Linked DNA regions of Homo sapiens: region 2 is linked to region 1. Evidence: promoter capture Hi-C in human tissues and cell types (Jung and others, 2019). All regions are on one chromosome and are shown on one strand. The core of a region is centred on a gene start or on the middle of the fragment in contact, and the rest is flanking DNA. Distances in the headings are between cores, read along the strand shown.

Region 1 (6,256 bases), core at 2,156-4,655:
GATCAAGATACATTTAATTCTGATTTTACCTAAACATAATTTCAAATTGAATCTGTTAGTATAAGCTAAAGTAGATTTACTTCGTTTAGACACAGTGTACATTATCATCAGTTTAACGTGCCCACTGAACATATTATATTCTGAGGGAAAAATAAAAAAAATTATTTAAGTTGCAATTAAAGTCCTCTATTCTTTTTTCAAAAGATTGAAGTCTTACTAGTTTAGCAAAATTTTAACAGATAGGTTCTATATAAAGACACAAAGCATGGCTAGCTTACTTTATGAAATAACATACAGGAAAAGGAATTGCACAACAGTGAATTTATAAAATTTACTAAACCCGTGGAAATTTTCTGAAATATTTTCTTACTATTGTTTGTGGAAAACTGTTAGTTTTTATTTTTAAAATACTTATTTGGCATGTGGCCTCTTATATCCAAGTTGACTTTTCTTAATGCATCAAAAGAGCAACATCTTATTCAACACTTCAGAGATAAAACTGCCTACTTTTAAAATATTGTTTTTAAAGTAAGTTTTTAACTGTGATAACATACCAAGATAAATGTGTCCATAAATTCCTAAGAATAATAAGTGTTAGGGCTGTATCTCTTGGGGTTAAGAGGGGTACATCATTCTTTCTTTTGGCCATTATCAAACTGATAATGATCAAATAGAAAGGTAATTCTACAAACCTGAAGTTAGAATACCGATTTAGAAATACTCTTGGTATTTTAAAATTCTGCAGATTAACTTTGTCTGGGCAGGTTCAAAGCCTCCATGGCATCCTGAGCAGAAGAGTTTTCTGCAGGCAGGGCAGATCTATTAAAAAACATGACCTGTGACAAAAATCAATGTGCTAATCTCAAACCAAACAACAGTATCAAAAGCACAAAACAGAGATAACCTAAGATAAAATGTCCTCAAACTAACTCAGACTAGCTTGACAGGTTAAGAAGGGGGGTTAAAGTAGGGGTGTTGCTGGTTCTTTCCGTTTTAACCCAGGAAGACTGGAACACCCAAGTATCCAAATAAATGAATGCCATGAGAAAAAGATCACAATGTGGAGCTTGGTGTGGGAAAGAAAAGACAACCGAGAGCAAGATATCCCAAATTCAAAGAAACTATTTCAGTGTTGCTTTATTTAATAAGGTGCTAAAGTTCAGAGATACAAATTTCTGCTTCGTATATGCTGCCTAATAAAGCACAAACGGGGAAAAAAAACTAACCAACATAATGAGACTGGCTTTTAACACCATCACAACTGGAAAGCTTGCTCTATTTGTCTTGTCAGCTTTAATAAAAGGCATCTCTCCTCTGGCAGGATGGCTTCTTTTTCTCTTTTCCTAATAGTGGTAAGTGGCATGTCAAAGAAGAAATCGCTTCCCATTCCACCACCCACCTCCAGGAGACTCTTGTTTTTTGAACCAAACTTTCAGGAATATCTCCACTCCTGTTCAGCGGTTCATTTAGGACTTGGGCGGCTACCTGAGTAAGACTATCTTGGACTAGCGGGATAGGGGGAACTCCCTCCTGGTTCTGTAACCGGCGGACTGCTTGTGGGGAAATCTTCCCATCTTCATCTGCGCTGACATTATTCAAGCAGGGAATCCCTCTCTTGCCTGCATGCTGAGGGGAGGCTGGAGGCAGGCGGAGAGGGCCCGCAGGAGATAGAAAAAACTGGAGGCGCCCACCGATACCCTCTCTCCTGGAGCCCGGGGCGCGCACCAACTCTTAGGCTAACCCCTCGGCCTCCCGCCTCTCTCTTCCCAACTTCCACTCCAGCCCAGTGAAAAACCTGTGACTTTAGATGCAATCGGTACTATTAATAAATAGCACCTAGGAGGGCACCGAGACCGGCACACAGCTGGAAGCTAGCCTCTGTCCCAGAGAAAGCAGTGCGGTATGGGCCTAGCGGGGCCGACTTCTGTGCACAGGCCGGGAAGCAATAAAGGTTCGGAACTGCTCCAGACCCGGAGGACCCCGCCGGGCACTCTGGATAACCTCCCCACTCCACTTCCAGGGTCCGAAAACACGGGACGTCTGCGACTGGCCGGTGTCCAGCACGCGCACTAGGACCGCCCCCGGCGCCCACCTCTAGTCTCCCGCATACCCGGCGGGCTTCGGGACGCCTACAAATCGGTTCCAGGTAATCGCGCGCGTTCCTCCGGCAGCACATCGCCAGGCCGCGGGCGAAGGGCTCCCACCTCCTGGCTCGGCCAACTCTGGCAGCTTGTTCTGCACACATGACGTAACCCGGCATTAGATCAAACTTTCTGGCACCTTGAACCCACTGGGGTGGGTGGAGGGATGGAGAAGATGGGAGAATCCTCTCCACTGCCAGGCGCGCCGGGCCCAGACTGACTCAGGGGCCGAATGATTTCCTCGCAGTTGAAGAGGAAAATAAAAACCTAAAGCTTCCGCTTCCCAGCCCCCCTCACTTCCCCCAGCCCGTGCGCTCTCTCTGCGCGCACCGGGAAAAGAGAAGGGAAAATTAAAATTAAAAAAAAAAAAAAAAAAAAAAAAACTTTGGGGGATGTTTGGCGGGTTCTCTCCGCAGTCCCTGCGGACCCACGCTCCAGGAAGGAGCTCCCGGCTGCGCACACTGGGGGCTCCCCGCGCCGGGAACCGGATGCCAGCCAGATGCCGGGGCTGGGAAGCAGAGAAGTCCCTACTCCCCGGCTCCCGCCCTTTTCCGAGTCTCCCGGCGCCCCGCAGAAGCAGTTGGTCTAGGCAGCCCCGGGGACTCCCAGGGGTACCTGGCCTTTCCGCGGCGGCTTAACAAAGAGGGGCGCGACGCGAGCGCTTCCCGCCGACGCCTCAAGCCATCAGCGCCCGGGCGACGCAGGCTCCGAGGGTGCGCGCCGCCAGCGGTTGGTGCGCGCCGATCCCCGCCGCCGCTCCTTCCGCAGGGCCCCGAGGCCCGGGTAGCCCTGGCTCTCCGCCTGTTATCGGCTTACCTGGGGTTGCTGCTGTTCCAGTAGACAGCGTAGCGGTCGGCGACGGCCTTGGAGCCCGGGTCCTGGCTGAACACACACATCCAGAGCACCAGAAACACCAGCGTCAACATCTCCACGTGCAACATCACGCCTGGCCAGCGGCGGAGCCCCCGACGCGCCACTCCGGGGAGAGAGCGGGGATCCGGAGGGAGGGAGGCAGGCAAAGGGACAGAGAGAGAGCGGGCGCCAAATAAATATGAATAAATAAAAATGAAAGTGGGCGAGAAAGGAAAGAGGCGCCCACCAAGCTGGGGAGGGGTAGGAGAGCGAGAAGAAAAGAAGGCGGTGGGATGGGGGGTGATAAAGACAAACTCGCACCCCCACTGGAGGGTTCAGGAGGAAAAAGGAATCACAAGATGGAGAGAAGCGTGCGTGTGTGTGGTGGCGGCGGCGAGGGCGGGGGAAGAGGTGCCAAGCTGTGTCTCGGGCGGCGGCGGCAGGCCGGTCACCCCGGGAGAGGGAGGTGCGCGCCGGGCCGGGCGGCTGCAGCGCGGGTCGGGGCAGGCGGCGGCGCGCGCTGCACAGTCACCGGGAGTTGCGCGCCGCAGCCGCGGGGAGACATACACCGGCCCGCCGGGCCCGGCTCAGCGTCGGCGCAGCAGGCTACGCACGGCTCCGCCACCGCCCGGGGCCCTCGCACTGCGCCACGCTTCGCTCCAAGTTACTTTGGCGGCCGGTGGGAAACTGCAGGAGAAGGGCGACGTGCTGATAGAGGGCTTCGCGCTTGTGGTCCCGGGAGTCTGAGAACCCCTTTCCTCAGCCTCCTCTGTGCCTTAGCGGGGCGACCCCCAGAAATCTCAGAGGAGTCGTAAGTGCTGCGGTACCGGGCGGTGCGCCGAGAAGGGTGGGGATCCGGAGCCGCAACCCAGCCTTGTCGGTGTCCTGGAACTGGTTAAGCGGCAGCTGCGCCGGCTTTCGAAGCGGTCTTGCCTCGAAAACCTCAAAGAAAAGTTTGGCTCTTCGCGTCTTCCGGCAGGTCCCCCAGCAGAGTCGGAACGCGGCGGTAGCGGAAGAGGGCACCCCGGGGGCTGGCCGAGCCTCGGGGATTTCTCGCGCGTGCTTTCCTTGGCTGGGTGTGGGTGCACCACAGTGAATGAAGAGCAGAGGTTAAGACCAGCCGGCCTGGCAGAGCTGGGATTCCTAAACCTGCAAGACGACGCCAACCCAACTGTTCGGCTGGAGAGCGGGAGGGGAAACAATCACTTTCAAATGGATCCCTCCAACTCCTGGATGGGCCGATGTCAGTCTCCGATCGCCTTCCGAGAGGGAGACTGAGCCCCCACACGCGGTGCCAAGAGCCCGGGGTGAGCTCTCAGAAGTGTCCCTGCGACTCCAGCGGGTCCAAGCCTAGCAACTTGTAGAGATGCATCAATCAGTTTGAAATGGGAAAAGAGGAAAAAAAAAAAGCGCACGAGCGAGTGGCACCTCCCCGATGACTACATCAGAAAACCTTCCCGATCCTCCCGCAGCTGCTCCTCTTTCCCTCCTTAGGCACAGCAGCAACAGAGGTGAAAACCACAAACCGAATCCTAAAACCCCTACCCAGGCGGGAAAATAAATAAACTTGAGTGCAGCAGCAGCAGCACGAGCAGCCCAGGAGGAATTGAAACGACTGGCAAGAAGTGGAAAGGGTTTTGTAAAAGTCAGTTTTGCAAAAGAGGGGGAAAAAAAGAGAGCGAGAGAAAAAATGCTTTATGGGAAAAAAAATCTCCTCGGGCACGCCCCCTCGTTAATGACTTGCGTGGAAAGCCGACAGCGGCGGCGACCCAGTGGCAGCAGCCTCAGCAGAGCGCGAGGCCGCACGCGTGAACGTGGACGTGGGCGGGGGGATGGGGCTCCGCCCGGGCGTGTTGCGCGGGACGCGGGACGGGCGGGCGGCGCGAGCGCGGGTGTGAGCTCCGGACGAAGCAGGGGGAGGTGCCGCCAGCCCGCGCCCAGCCAGCGCTGCTGCCGCTGCGGCCCGGGTCATGTGGACTGTCTTTTTTTTTTTTTTTTTTTTTTTCCTCCTTCCAAGCAGTTTACTTGGGAAGGGTGGGAGCGCGGTGGGGGGATAGCTGGAGCAACCAGTCAGGGAACGGCCTACTGTTTGCTTACAGATTGGGGGTTTTTCCTCTCTCTTTACTCCAACCGGATTGGTTTGCTCCACGAGAAAGAGGCGTTTTCCTAATCTCCCTTCCCCACGCCTCCTACCCCCTCCCCCGCCCCACCTTCTAGAAACCTGACTAATTGAATTACTGGGAGTGCCGAGGCGCCCTCTCCTGCGCCGGAGCCCGGCAGCCACGTGTAACCCTTTGGGTGCTGAATTCCGTCTGGGCTAAGGAATGATTTGACATCTTTTTACCTGGGAGTAGGGTCTTTCGATTTTAAAGGAACCTGTGCCCACCCTTTGGCTGGAGAGCCGGCATCTGTCTCTGGTGCCCCGCAGGTGACGGATGGGCTGGAACGGAGCCTCAGGGAGTGCGCGTTCCTGTCCATTCCACCCGCTCTCCACGCCGCACGCTGCCTGGCGCTGGGTTATCTGGAAGTCTGAGCACCCCTCCTGTGCCTTTCAGCCCTCCTCTTCCCACTTGGGATTTAAAGATTCTTGGGCAGGAAGCAAGTTTTCTTTAAAGTGATGCTCTGAAAACACGTTTTTAAAAATCAGGCAAATCACAGTTTAAAGTGATTACAATTCAGCGCGAACCTTCCACAGAGAGGAAATGAATGCGGCAGACGAGCCCTTCAGAAATAACCTCACACCTCTTCCATTTCAACCTTGAGGGTGATTTGCTGCCCACTCCCCAAAGAATAAACGCCTTTATCGAACCCGGTGCGGAAAGAAATGAGGGCCGGGGGCGGGGGCTGTGGGAAGAAAAGCAGTTCCTTTATTGTTGGAAAAGGCCCCTCGGTCCTGGACTTCAAGGGCAGGTTGCAAGCCTGGTCTTCAGCCGCCACTGAAGAGCGATCTCCTGGCAGCGAGACTGTCCCAGCGCCTCGGGACGCGTCCCCACTGTCGTCCAGCGCCCAGGAAGTGAGCCCGACGCCTGCTCTGCGGGGCCACAGGCCCCCGAGACCCGCCCTTAAGGGGTCCGCGGGCTCGGGAGCAGCGGTATTTTTTCTCATGTTCCCTAGGGAGTTTTCTGCCTTAGTGGGAAGGGCAGATCCCCAGGAGAAAAAAGGCAGTTTACTTTTGCTCCCACACCTGCCTGCACTCCTTTTTACTTATTAGCCCAATAAAATCAAATCTCACGTTCACCCTCCTGCGCTTTCCAGTCCTCAGA
Region 2 (6,256 bases), core at 2,558-5,057, 1.7 Mb before region 1:
GTTCAAGTTTATTTTTATACACTGTAGTGTATGTATAACATCCATGACACACTGTATCAAGCTACCCAAGCATGTTTTTTTCATCTTTAGATATCAGAATTAAATTGTAAAACAAAATTACTAAATTATTTTTACCAATGCATCTCTATATTTAACTGAAATTTTATATTATGATGCTGGGCCATGCTGTTGGCTTTGTCTGGATTTTCTCATGAACTCATATACAAGCAGTTTTTAACTAGTACAAACAACTTAATAGTATCAGCCACCCTCATTTATTTACTATCTACATCCTCCTTTAAATCATTAATTTGTACAAACATCTGGATAAATTTTGAGTAGTTTCTCATATTTCTCAGAGATAACATTTCTAGACATGGAGGGACAGAATAAAAGAGACTGCAAATTTCCACACACATGCATCTAAGTCTACATAGCAACTGGCGTTGATACATGATCACTTGGCACTGCTCAAAATAGTGATAATAAAAAGCAAGTAAATCACTAATTTGCACATACTTAAGCTCACCATATTTCAGAATGAATCTACATGTGTGGTTTTAAAAATATGTTTATAAATATAGGGAATACTTTTGTACTTTTTAATGTAAACACATTTCAACAAATTTTATGAATGATAAGTGTGATATCAACAGGGCTCAAAGTGTGTACGGTGAAAACACTTATTTTTTACAAAATTTTTAGAAAAAAAGAATAAAATTATGTAGATTCCCTATTAAAATGCACTTTGCTCATGCAGTTTTCTTTTCCTTTTGAAAAGGGCTTGCAGTATACCCACCATTTAAAATTTCTTTATACAGACATTTTGTGGTCAATTGTGATACTTTTATCTGTGGCATGTGTATTATTTTTGAGAAGATAGTTATTAAAACTTCAGTCCTGGATACTTCTAAAGTTCCACCCACATGTGTTTTGGTCCGTTTTTACACTGCTAATAAAGACATACCTGAGACTGGGTAATTTATAGAGAAAAAGAGGTTTAATGGACTCACAGTACCACATCGCTGGGGAGGCCTCACAATCATGGCAGAAAGCAAAAGGCACATCTTACATGGTGGCAGGCAAGAGAGAAATGAGAACCAAGTGAAAAGGGTTTCCCCTTATAAAACCATCAGATCTCGCGAGATGTATTCACTACCACAAGAACAGTATGGGGGAAACCACCCACATTATTCAGTTATCTCCCACTGGGTCTCTTCTACAACACATGGGAATTATGGGAGCTACAAGTCAAGATAAGAGTTGGGTGGGGACACAAACCATATCAACATGCATGCACGCATACACATCTTTGAAGGTAGAGTATGTGAATTTGATGCTGGAGTATGTTGATGGTATAGTAAAAAGTCATGGGTAGGCGTGTTATAAGCAACTAACATTTGTTAGTATGTGGACTGTGCCTATCAAAATGACTCCATAATTACTGTGTGCTTTGTGAAATTTAGCATAGTTGCAAATTATCTAAGCTTTGACATAGCTTGAGAATGAAAAGATAATTTTGAAAACCAATTTTATAAAATGTATAAAATTATGAAATTTTCATGGTGAAATTGTATGCTTTCAAGAATCACAAAGGATAAAACATGATTCTATAACTTTATTATGATTTCCTGTCTTTACATCTACCACAGTGTCTCAGCAAATAATGTACTCAAAAGTATTTGTTGAATAAAACACTAAAATGACTCAAGGAGAGAAGGCAGCTGTCTGTGAGACAGGACATTTTCAGATTAAAGTTACAAATGCAATGGAAAATAATCTTGACAATACCCATGAAATCAGGCCACAATGGTATAAGTAAAAGAATTATAGATTATTTTATGATTTTTGCTTTTGTTCTCTTTCCTTCTCCATGGCTGAGACACCTAAGACGTTTGAAATAATTATCCACATAGCAGTCCTAACACTCCAACAACAGAGGAAGATATCCTTATTACCATGCTGCCCTTTAAAAATCAAAAAAGGACACAATTTCCCCTTAATCACTCAAATAGAAGGCCACTCAAAGAAAGACAAAAAATTAAAACAAAATAGAAAATAGTATGCCCAGTATACATCAGTGACATAATATGTGTAAATAGATTAAAATTAAAAATTAAAAGTCAAAATATCTCTGTAGGAGGAAGCAAAAAGCAGTATTGATTTATGTATTACTTAAAAGAGATATGTTTAAAAAGACCCAAAAGGGTTGAAAATACAAAAGAACAAAATTTTATAAGTGAATTGTAAGCAAAAGCAATTATAAAAATGCAACAAAATAGTTTTCTCTGTATTATTATCTCCCATCCTATTATATCCTCAGGTAGCCTTATCTAGGTAAGAAAGTTATAATTTTAGTTATTTCAATGAGCTTGAACTTAATGGAAATGATGAAACAGTAAACTTTCACAATATTTTTAAGTGCACTTAATAGTAAATCTTCAACTTGATTTCTCTCAATTGGAGTACCATGTGAAGGTTTGTTACATGGATAGAGGTTTGTACTTAGATTGGATCTGGTAGCCAAATATTGAACATAGTACCAAATTGGTAGTTTTTCAATTCTTACCTCCCTTACTCTCTCTCCCCTTCTGGAGTCCCCATTGTCTGTTTTTCCTATCTTTGTGTCCATGTGTACCCAATATTTAGCTTCCACTTATAAGTGAGAACATGCAGTATTTGGTTTTCTGTTTCAGTGGTAATTTGTGTAGGATAAGGGCTTCCAGCTGCATCCACATTGCTGCAAAAACATGAGTTCGTTCTTTTTTATGGCTGCATAGTATTCAGTGGTGTATATAGACCACATTTCCTTTATCTAATTCTCCCACTGATGGGCACCTAAGATGATTGTATGTCTTTACTATTGTGAATAATGCTGTGATAAACATGTGAATACAGGGGTCTTTTTGGTAAAATGATTTAATTTCCCTTGGGTGTATGTTCAAGACTGCAATTGCTCGGTGGAATGGTAATTCTATTTTTGGTTCTTTGAGAAATCTCCTAACTGCTTTCTATAGGGGTGAACTAATTTACAGTCTCACCAACCGCATATAAGCTTTCCATTTTCTCTGTAACCTCACCAACCAACATCTGTTATTTTTTGACTTTTTAAGAGTAGCTGTTCTGGGCCGGACTCAGCGGCTTATGCCTGTAATCCCAGCACTTTGGGAGGCCGAGGCGGGTAGATCACCTGAGGTCAGGAGTTCAAGACCAGCCTGACCAACATGGAAGAAACCCCATCTCTACTAAAAATAAAAAATTAGCCAGGCGTGGCGGCTCATGGCCGTAATCCCAGCTACTCAGGAGGCCGAGGCAGGAGAATCGCTTGAACCTGGGAGGTGGAGGTTGTGGTGAGCCAAGATCATGCCATTGCACTCCAGCCTGGGCAATAAGAACAAAACTCCATCTCAAAAAAAAAAGAAAGAAAAGATAAGAGTAACTGTTCAGACTGGTGTGAGATGGTATCTCATACCTTTCAAAATAACTTTTAAGTGAATTTTACTTCAAATTTGCCTTTTTAATTAGTATTTTTGATAGTAAATACTTTACTGTGATTTAATCTTATTTAAATTTAAAAAATAATAAACATGCTATACTTGCACTTTGTAATACTTGCAGTTGTCATTTACCTATGCTATGTCACAAATATATAATTTATTGTAATTTCTGGTTTAAATTAGTTTTTAAACTTGGAGAAATTTACATTAGAGGAAATTCAAATTACTAAAACAGAGCTAATCAAATTAAACCTTACAAGTAAGCAACAAAATACATACTAAAAAATCAAATTGCATCCCTTACAAGCAGAAGTGAAAAGGACAACACAAATTATACAATGCTCATTTTTCAAGAATGTGTAAACAAACTGACACTGCTTGTAGTAGAATTACGATTTGGTTCACTGTGAAGGGTAATTTGGGCAATACTCTTGATTCAGCAATTTTTCTAGAACTATATAGCCTGAGGAAATGATTTTATACAGTTGTATATAAAAGAAAGCATGCAGAAGCATTGCTTATAATTTAGAAAAAATATAAATGAATTTTTGAGCAACAACTAAGGAATCTGTAAAATTATGGTATATATATTTATAAAAGCAAACACTGCTATCTAAAATAATGAATGGTTATGTTGGGATGGAAACATTTTAATGAAATTATTGGTAAAACAGATAAGATAAAATATATCATGCTTTCGACATGTATGCTATTCACAAATCTTTCTCTTCCTGAGACACATGGTAGAATTCACCTTTATTATTCACTTGAAGTAGGTTATGTGACTTGATATATCCAATTGAGCATACACAGAAGTGATAATATGTGTCCCTTCCAGACAGATGATTAAAAACAGCACATACTTTACCACCCTTTCTTTCTCTCTTTCCAGGAAATAATGGGCATTCTGTCAGGTTGGATCCCAGAGTAAGGACACATACATTAACAACAACTTTCAAAATGACTAATGATGCACATGTAGCCTAGACAGAGCATTGCCTTTTGGTCTTTTAAGCAACTGAAATGTAATTCTTACCATAGATATCCTAGTCAATCTGGAGAGTAATGTCATATATGTAAGAAATAGAATTGTTAAGGTCAATCTCTTACTTTTGTGGGTTATTAGCATTATTATAGAATTAGAAATAAATTTGAAATAACATTAAATTTTCAAAATCTTAAAAAATGTGCATCCATATCTGCATTTTAAGATTTATAACATTTCGCATTTTTTTCAAGGCATTGGGTGTAGAAGAATCTGGCTATAGTATAATTAGACTATGGAATTCTATAAATACAAAGATAAAGAGAATATCAGAAAACTCTACCTCTGTGGTTAACACAGGGAAGGAATTTGGAGGAGCCTAAAGATCTATCTACCTAAAATCTATTAATCATCTACTTATATATCTATGTATACACTTTTACAGGAAGCTAAAACATACCAAACAGGTCATGTAGTGACTCACATCATGGGGATGTAATGAAATATTAATATTATCATCTGAGCCATATTATCACTGGCAAATTGTATGTTGTTTAAATTACCTCAATGTCCACAAAGAGCTACAGTATAATTACTGTAGGGGTAAGGCACATGGACGTACCATAAAATAATAATACTTTTTTTGTTGTTGAGAGTTTAAATAAGCTTTTTAAATATATGTTCTCTATTTTTCCCATCCAAGTACTAACCAGGCCCATCACTGCTTAACTAGCTTCTGAGATCTGATGAGATCAGGTGCATTCAAGGTGGCATGGCTGTAGACTAGTCTATATTTTTCAGAATATAAATGTATGAATTTAAAAAGTAATATTTTAAAATTATAGGTTTTATTATTTGTGTCTATTATGTAATATATGCAGTGTTTAAAGTTAAAGCCAATTAATCTTTGAAGCTCCTCTTCAATACCTTTCTCTTCCCAACAGATAGAAGAATTTAGATTATCTTGTAGGAACATAAATTAAATGTCAATTTGATTTTTATTTGGTAGAATAAGACAAATTGAAATATCAGTTGGAATGAAACTAAAGATTTAAAGCTTTAGTTAAAATAAAAACCAAGAGAATCTTAAAATACAAAAATGTAGAAACCTGGGCAATACAGCAAGGTGCCATCTGTACAAAAATAAAATATAAAAATTAGCCAAGTGTGGTGGTGCATACCTGTAGTCCCAGATACTCAGAAGGCTAAGGTGAGAGGATTGCTTGAGCACAGGAGTTCAGGTTTGCAGTGTGCTATGGTCACACGACTGCCCTTCAGCCTAGGGAACAGAGGAAGACCCTGTCTGAAATAATAAATAAATAAATAAATTCACTAATTAATTTTTTAATGATGAGAGCATTAAAATATCCAATGACATAGAACTTTTTCATTTTTTATTTTGTCTGGATGATATATCTCTGGGAACTATGGGTCACTCACTGTATTATCAAGATATTAAGGAAAGTATCTCCTAGGAACTTGGTAGACTTCTCTTTTTCAATGTAGTAATTGGAGGAATCTTACTCTTTGGGGAAAGATGAAACAGAAATAACCTCAACCAATGCATAATCATGAGGCGAGGTGTATTCCAACCAAATGTTGTAATATTAAGCAGTCATTGGCTTATTTGAAAGAAGCAACTTGTAGGGGAACTGGTTCTAATTATCACTTGTTTTGAATAGTGTGTATTTTGTTAAAGTCGCTCAAACTCTAAATCTTGTTCCTTCATTTTTTAAATCAAGGAGTAGGCAAAGGAGTAGTTCCTTTCACACTC

The links. The method cuts DNA at HindIII sites, captures the fragments that hold promoters and counts their contacts. A contact is called where the count stands out against the background at its distance.
Region 2: a contact is called between a fragment that was not itself captured here and the fragment with the promoter of EFNA5 in region 1, in 1 of the 25 tissues and cell types used here (IMR-90 fibroblasts).

The regions. Positions count from the first base shown.
Region 1 is chr5:107,667,532-107,673,787 of GRCh38, forward strand. It overlaps EFNA5 (ephrin A5), which reads right to left and starts at 3,406. Exons shown (of 5, transcript NM_001962.3): 1 at 2,958-3,406. The coding sequence starts at 3,082. RefSeq lists enhancers at 2,559-2,638, 3,039-3,168, 3,879-4,018, 5,759-6,256, 6,160-6,209 and silencers at 2,799-2,868, 3,439-3,488, 4,849-4,918. The HindIII fragment of the contact is 6,025 bases long and covers 1,842-6,256 here.
Region 2 is chr5:105,917,849-105,924,104 of GRCh38, forward strand. It overlaps the pseudogene RNA5SP189. Among named protein-coding and RNA genes, the nearest start is that of LINC01950, 1.1 Mb to the right of the region's middle. The HindIII fragment of the contact is 3,072 bases long and covers 2,272-5,343 here.